Regions from separate parts of the Homo sapiens genome. Here region 1 is linked to region 2. Evidence: promoter capture Hi-C in 16 types of primary human blood cells and fetal thymus (Javierre and others, 2016). All regions are on one chromosome and are shown on one strand. Each heading gives the region's core, a stretch centred on a gene start or on the middle of the fragment in contact. The rest is flanking DNA. Distances are from core to core; before and after follow the strand shown.

What was found. The method cuts DNA at HindIII sites, captures the fragments that hold promoters and counts their contacts. A CHiCAGO score of 5 or more calls a contact.
Region 1: a contact is called between a fragment that was not itself captured here and the fragment with the promoter of VPS26A in region 2, in 1 of 17 cell types (monocytes). The highest score is 5.7, in monocytes.

Annotation. Positions count from the first base shown.
Region 1 is chr10:69,344,781-69,348,569 of GRCh38, reverse strand. The region is part of intron 2 of HK1 (hexokinase 1); the gene reads right to left. Among named protein-coding and RNA genes, the nearest start is that of HK1, 28 kb to the right of the region's middle. RefSeq lists a silencer at 3,566-3,695. The HindIII fragment of the contact is 3,685 bases long and covers 469-3,789 here.
Region 2 is chr10:69,121,864-69,125,804 of GRCh38, reverse strand. VPS26A (VPS26 retromer complex component A) reads right to left here and starts at 1,627. Exons shown (of 9, transcript NM_004896.5): 1 at 1,525-1,627. The coding sequence starts at 1,527. RefSeq lists enhancers at 663-1,169, 2,034-2,393 and a silencer at 1,374-1,773. The HindIII fragment of the contact is 9,705 bases long and covers 1-3,941 here.

The DNA of each region.
Region 1 (3,789 bases), core at 1,062-3,561, 220 kb before region 2:
CAAAGTGCTGGGATTACAGGCATGAGCCACCGTGCCCAGCCTCAATGAATTAATTCTGTACATGAGATACACAGGCATTCCTGCCCATCTACAATCCAGCTGCATGATGGGAACTCCACGCCTTCAACTCAGGAGGTTTCACAGATAGAGAGAATACTTGAGATAACCCAACTATCCTTCCATATAAGAAAACTGAGACCACCCAAATGCTGCAAGAAGAGAAGGTAAATATTTTCCTTCCGTTGACTGGAAAACAGTAGTATGAATATTTAGGGCCCCAAAACAACCGTGACTACACTGTAAATGGCTCTGCTTTGCATGAAAAAAGATAATGGCACATCCAAGCTTCTAGAAAATTTTTTTTTTTACTTCTCCTTTGGGTAAAAACTTCTCTTTTGGGTAAAGGCTGTGTAGGAACAATGAAGCCGAAACCAAGAAGTATCGATTCCTATTTAGCCTCCAAAAGCTTACACTCTAATTAGTGCTTACAATATCCTTAGGGATAAATGAGAAAAGGAGAAAAAAGGGACACTTCGCGAATGGGGGAGGCTGGGCACAGAGGGACAGCAATTCCCAAGAGACTGGGTAGTGAGGGAAACCCAAAATACTTCACCCCAAAATATGGCTCCCTGGTATAATGAGTATTTTGAACTAAAGGCCCTTAAAGATCAACAGATGCTGGAAAATGCTTTTCTCCTATCTGCATAAAGACCACGCAGACCCTCCAAGGAGAACTTTATCCTTACCCTCCCTGTTATCTCATTATCTATTGCAGAAAAGAAGACTGAAGAATCTGACCACACCTGAATGGACCTTTTTAAAGATGTCTGTTCCTAAACCGGGCGTGGTGGCTCACACCTGTAATCCCAGCACTTTGAGGGGCCAAGGCGGGCAGATCACAAGGTCAGGAGTTCGAGACCAGTCTGGCCAACATGGTGAAACCTCGTCTCTACTAAAAATACAAAAATTAGCCCAGCGTGGTGGTGCGCACTTGTAATCCCAGCTACTCAGGAAGTTGAAGCCGGAGAATTGCTTGAACCCGGGAGGCGGAGGTTGCAGTGAGCCGAGATCATGCCACTGCACTGCAACCTGGGCGACAGAGCGAGACTGTCTTAAAAAAAAAAAAAAAATCTGTCTCCTATTCAATTTCCAAAGAGAACCGGTACTGGTTAATCTCTGTTCCCTGATATCTTCATTCTCCCTAGTAATCATTTACTGTTCCCTGTCTCCTGCCTCCCCTCTGAAAAGAGGAAATGTGTGGCCGGGCGCAGTAGCTCACACTTGTAATCCCAGCACTTTGGGAGGCCGAGGCGGGTGGATCACCTGAGGTCAGGAGTTCGAGACCAGCTTGGCCAACATGGCAAAACCCCGTCTCTACTAAAAATACAAAAATTAGCTGGGCATGGTGGCAGGTGCCTATAATCCCAGCTACGTAGGGGGTGCTAAGGCAGGAGGATCGCTTGAACCATCGTGCCACTGCACTCCAGCCTGGGCAACAGAGCAAGACTCCATCTCAAAAAAAAAAAGGAAAAGAAAAGAGGAAATGTAAGTATCTGGGCCCCACCGGGATACTTGAGTAATCAGTCTGTGATTCTCCCACATGCATGTTAATAAATGTGTATGCCCTTTCTCCTATTAATCTGCCTTTTGTGAGCTGATTTTTCAGCCAACATTCAGAGGGCAAAGGGGACGTTTTCCCTTGCTCCCTACAGTAGCTTTGAAGAGGGAATTCTATTTAGCCAAATCACCAATGTTAAGAGGCTTCAATATTTTCCTTCTTTATTATTCATTCATCCACTACCTCAAAAATGATATGCAGCAGCAAAAAGCCACTTTAGGTTTTTGGGGTTTTTTTAATGATATACAGATTATTGAAGAACAACTAAAAAATAAAAATAAAAACAGGCCAGGTGAGGTGGCTCACGCCTGTAATCCCAGCACTTTGGGAGGTGGGAGGATCGCCTGAGCCTAGGAGTTCAAGACCAGTCTGGGCAACATGGCAAAACCCTATCTCTACAAAATACCAAAAACAAAAACCTCACTGCCCATTAAAAAAAAAATGACCAAAAAAGAAAGAAACTAATTAAAAATGGGCTGATAGGTATCAGAATGTATGTATCAGATATGTTTTCAGAAATGCTTCTGGAAAGTCAGTTGAGTTCCAAAACTCTGTGTCTAGTCGACCAGGGTCAAGGTCAGCAAGAAAGGAAAGGCTTGTTTCCTTCCTTTGCCTTGGAAATCACATCACCACTTAGGCATTGCTCCACCATGGTGAGCGCCAATTTATCCCTCCGTGGTTTGGGATTACCACTAATTCTGTCACTAATTACTACAGTTGAAGCAGTGATTAACATTTCAAAAAGGGAACAGCACTATGGATTTACTATTAAGAGACCCAGATTCTGATTACTGCAGGGATCTCCTGATTCTTGGATGATAAAGGAGCCAAGAGGCAGGGGGAGGTGAAGACAGAAGCCCGGCACAACACGAAGGGGCAGGAAGTGGACTGGGGGTTGGGTATCCAAGTCCTTAGCATCAACAGCAATGTCTTTGCGGGGCTGTAGGGACCATTGCAAGCGAAGTGTGGGCTCTGGGGCACATGAACTGAACCCACCCATAAATATTTGGAATGGGGGGGTGCCGTTTCTATGAATCTCTAAAAGGGGGTGAAAAATACATTTCACAAATGAGTATGAGTTCTAAGCCTTGTTTGGAGGAGTAGCCAATATGGCAAATGGCTGGATTTCTACTGCACTTGGATCACACCTTGAGACTCTCAATCCTGGAAACAGTTTGTGAAGGAGAGGGAGAGCACCCCTGCTGACATAGGTCCCTGGGACACAGCTGGCTTGAGAGCAGGGCCCAGTGGGTAGGAGGCAAAGTGTCTCCTCCCCTGTGTCTGCCCTGAGCCAGTCACACAGGGCCAGGTGCCTCGCAGGGATCAGGTAGCCTTCTGAGCTCTCCCAAGCAAAGCCAAAGCAGGTGCTCTCCTGGGTGCTGCCCATACCCCCTCCCCTCCCCGCTCCTTCCTCTTCTCTCAGCTGGAAGCAGTCAGAGCCATGCCTCTGCTACATAGCTCTCCTCATCCTGGAAAGGTTCCAGTGCTCCTGGCTGTAGGTGACATCCATGGCTGGGAAAAAGCAAGAGTGAACTATATATAAAGTTCTTTCTTCTCCAGCCAGAGACAAGCGAACACACCCAGGGTAGACCACAGTCTATTCACTCTGATGGCCAGAATCTCTTCAGTAGTTCTTAAAAAGCTAGAAGTAGGTGCTAGTAATCAACACCTAAACAAAAGGGTGGAGGTGGAGTAGGCTTACATCAGAGATATACATGCTAATATGTGAGCATGAAGTAGACCCCACCCGTGGCCACAGTGAACAGCACAAGGCCTCTTTATCAGCGTCCAAATCTCATTCAGGATGACTGCAGGCAGAGAGCAGAGGTCTTTTCCTGCTGCAACCAGCCTACTCCCACTTGCCCATCTTTCAAGAACATCAGTTGCAACAGCTGCAGTTTCCTGGCGTCCATTTTGCAGGCTGCATACAAGATGCCCCAAATCACTCCTTTAAATAAGAGCCTCGAGAGCAGGGAAGAAATCGCAGGGGTGTGTGAAAGCTGTACTCACTGGTCGTGTACTCACAACCCCAAGGGAAACCTGACTTCCTCCTGCTCTCCCTCCCTCTGCTGCCTACAGCAGGTGAGCCCCACCCTAGAGCACAGAACACAGCTAACAGGGGATTCCTGTGAGGGCGCCACGCTGGAGCAAGCACAGCATTCACCTCCACA
Region 2 (3,941 bases), core at 378-2,877:
CATTTCTGAGGTGGAAGGCTGACTCTCAAAATTCATTCACTTAGCCCATACACAAGCAATGAAACAGCAAATTTTCATACATATATTACATCTGTGACCATTTCAGTGTTTTAAAGTTTTACAATTTAGTTTCTGTTTGGGTAACTTGAAAATATAAACTGCTCTTGAACATAATTCAAAAAAGCGTATTAAAAGTAATAATTACAAATGTAAGCAAAAAATAGGAGGACCTTTTAAGTTTTCTTTTCAAATGATATTCAATTAAAGAAGCCTGCCCTAACACTGACTAGGCAAGGTCCCCCAATACTTCCTTCTTAGTATCTGTCACAATTCTAATTTCCACGTTAAACAAATAATTTACACAAATAAATGTTTATCTCTCCCTACATTGTAAGCTACGAGAGCAGGTAGGCGCTGTTTCCATTTTACTGGGGTCCCCTAGGCACACCTGAGCAATTATTTGTTGAATGAAAGAAAAAAAGCTCTAAGAATGAACATGAATGTCTGGATTTTGTTTTGTTTTGTTTTGAAAGCAACATCATTACTGAAATTAAAAGTTATTTATTCAAAGTAGCTTTTTAAAAATATACCTGGCTCGGCCTTTTAAGCCAAAAGTCTCAAGCAGTCTATTGAATCAGTGAGCTTTGGGAAGAGCAGGTAGTATTAGGAGAGCATACAGTAGGCGCTAAATGAAGAGAACTGACGACTACTACCAGAAAATGGGTAAAATGAGATCTAACCTAGAGACTGCCGACACCCAGCTAAATACCACAATGCCCAGGCTAGTGCTTCCGCGGACTGTGGTGAGAGCACTGATTCCCCTCCCTCCTCTGCCTCATAGGCCGTTTCAACAACCCAGAGCGTTAAGTTCAGCGAAATAGCTTGCGGACGGAAATGAGAGCCAATGCTTAAAACGGCGGGCACCAAACGGGTGTCTCTGGAGTTAAAGATATCCCCCATTCCAACGTCCTTTTATTTTTCTCTCCCATTTTACAAGTGTCAACAGAAAGCCTGAACTGGGGTCATGAAATCAAAGAATGTCACCATAGTCAGGTTTTAAAATATCAGAGTTTATCAAGTTCGTGACACACTGAGTGCCCAAGTCCCCCGAAGAGTCCGGAGGTGGGGGGCTCCCGGGTCGCCCCACCTGGATGGAAGAGAGGCTGCCCGGGAGGAGAACAGGGACTGGCTACCTAGGAAGGGGAGGCGGCGACCAGCCCCCGCAGAGGCGGGGTCCGAGTCCCCAGCCAGAGCCCCAACAAGCAGTCGAAGAACGCGGGCAGAGGCTCCGACATGGCCAGGAGAGCACGCCGCCGCCCGTAGGTGCTCGGGCCTCGCCGAGACCGGGAAGAGGTGGCGCCGCCAGCTTTTCCCAGACCCAGGGGTGGCCCGACAGGCCTAACCCCGCTCCCCGCCCTGCTCCCCCGTCCCCTCCTCCGGCGACGCCCGGCCCGCGGTTGGCCGGCCCGCCGCGCGCTCCGGGACGAGGGCGGGAGGCGAGCGCGCTGGCCGCCGCGCACTCACCATTGTCAACGCCGCCGCCGCGTCCCCCCTACTCCACTCCTCTTCCCTCAGGAGAACTCCCAGCCCCGGCTCCCTCCGCTCCGGCGCTCCGTCACGTGACCTCGGGCCGCCCCTCACACGTGACCGCTCCCTTCCTCTCCCCCACCCCCGCACCCGTCCCTCTCCCAGCCTCCTGCCCCGCCCTGCTGGCCGCCAGGCACTCCGGGGAGAGGCCGCTTGGAGGCGGGGCCTCAGGCTCCACCCTTCGGAGGGTGGAGAGGGGCGGGCAAATTACGTCGAGTGGGCGGGGCCTGAACAGAGGCGGGTTCGCGGGCTCCTCCTCGCCGTCTCTTCGGTCACCGGACGAGCGGTTCCGTGTCCGGCCTCTTTACCGCACCCAGTTCCTCTTTGTGAAAGTTTGAGCGGCTGGGAAGGAAGGAGGAGAGGAAGGATTCATCTGGAGGCTCTCTCCTTGGCTGGGTCCTTGGGTTGCCGAGGCGAGTGGGAGCCCTACTTCCTTAGGCCTCGCAAGAAGAGATGTGCTCTCTTCGTCCACGGCGAGGCGTTCTGCCACCTTGCCTGAACGCAGTCCCGCTCCACCTCCTTCTGAGTCTGGGTTTTCTTAACTTGGCTTTCTCGCCTCTGAAGAGAAGACCAGTAGAAAAAAATCCTAGGGTACAACTTTCATTGCTTCCCAAAGTCCCCAGATGGCCCCTGAGCGACCCACCCTGAGCCTGGAGGGCTCACAAACCCACCGTTCCGCCCAGCCGTTCTGAGAGGGCAAAGGCGCTCCCCCGAAAGTCCCACGGCGCAGCTGAAGACTACGCTGGCCTGAACTGGATCCTCCTCCCTAGTGTAAGCCTATAGGACCTCCAGATGAGGAAAATACTGTGTGGGATTTCAGAGTATAGTGTTGAAGGGCCACAGTGCACTCTATGCATAACCAAAGCAGAAGAAAAATCCATCCCTGAACGCACTATAATTACCCCACCTTAAAACAGAAGTTTGTGAGGCGAGTCCATGAAACAGGTATCAAAAAAAATTTTTTTATACTTAATCCTCAGTGTGAGCCTCAAATTTAAGAGGATTGAAATCAGAGTATCATCTCTAACCGCAATAGAATTAAAATTAGAAATCAACCCAAACAAGCCAGAAAATTCCGGAAATATTGGAAATTAAGCAACATAATTCCAAATCTCTAGGTCAAAGAAGAGATCAATGGAAATTTAAAAATAAGTTGAGGCCGGGCACGGAGGCTCACACTTGTAATCCCAACACTTTGGGAGGCCAAGGCAGGTGGATCACCTGAGGTCAGACACGAGTATCTCTTGAATCCGGGAAGCGGAGGTTGCAGTGCCCGAGATGGAGCCACTGCACTCCAGCCTGGGCGACAGAGCAAGACTCTGTCTCAAAAATAAAAAATAATAAAAATAAAATAATTTGAAATAAAAGATAATAATACAACATATCAAATTTGTGGAATGCAGTGACACTGTGTAAAAGGAAAATTTGTAGCTTTAAATGCACATATTTGGGCCAGGCATGGTGGCTCACAGTCTATAATTCCAGCACTTTGAGAGGCCGAGGCGGACGGATCACTTGAGGTCAGAAGTTTGAGACCAGCCTGGCCAACATGGCGAAACCCCGTCTCTACTAAAAATACAAAAATCAGCGGGGCATGGTGGTGCACGTCTGTAATCCTAGCTACTCGGTAGGCTGAGGCAGGAGGATCACTTAAACCTAGGAGGCAGAGATTGCAGTGAGCCAAGATTGCGCCACTGCACTCCAGCCTGGTGACAGAGCGAGACTCCATCTCAAAAAAAATAAATAACTATAGTAACACTGATATTGTTGTCTGTTTGAACTGTGAAAAGAAAGCAGCAAAAACAATGCAAATCTTTAATTAATAAAAGTGAAAAATGGTTTTTTTCACTTAGAAGATTTGCCTGTCACCTTGAGAGCTACTCTGGTTCCTACCCACTCTTTTCTGGGACTTAAATATCAACATAACAAAGAGAATAGATGAAAATGCCACACAGGCAAAGAAATACTAGCGAAGCCAGGTATAAATAAGAGGTGGCAAAGAAAGTCACACTAGAAACCAATTTGTACTAATTATTTATTCTACTGATCAAAACCCAATCAATAATTGTGCTATCATAATAAATACAAGAAGCAACAGAATTGTTGAGCTAGTTATTTGTCTGTCTGCCTACCTATCAATCTATTCAGCAAGCCAGAATGTTAGAGCTAGATTGTGAGCAGTACAGTGTTTCACCAGCTGAGAACTGTGGCATCTCTATATTTGCCCTCTGCCAAAAAAAAAAAAAAAAAAAAGGTGGGGTGTGTGAGGAAAATGTGACTAACTTACAGGGATTGACTTTCATCAACAAAAGTACCGAGTTTAGGTCAGAAAGTATTAGATGATAAGATAATCT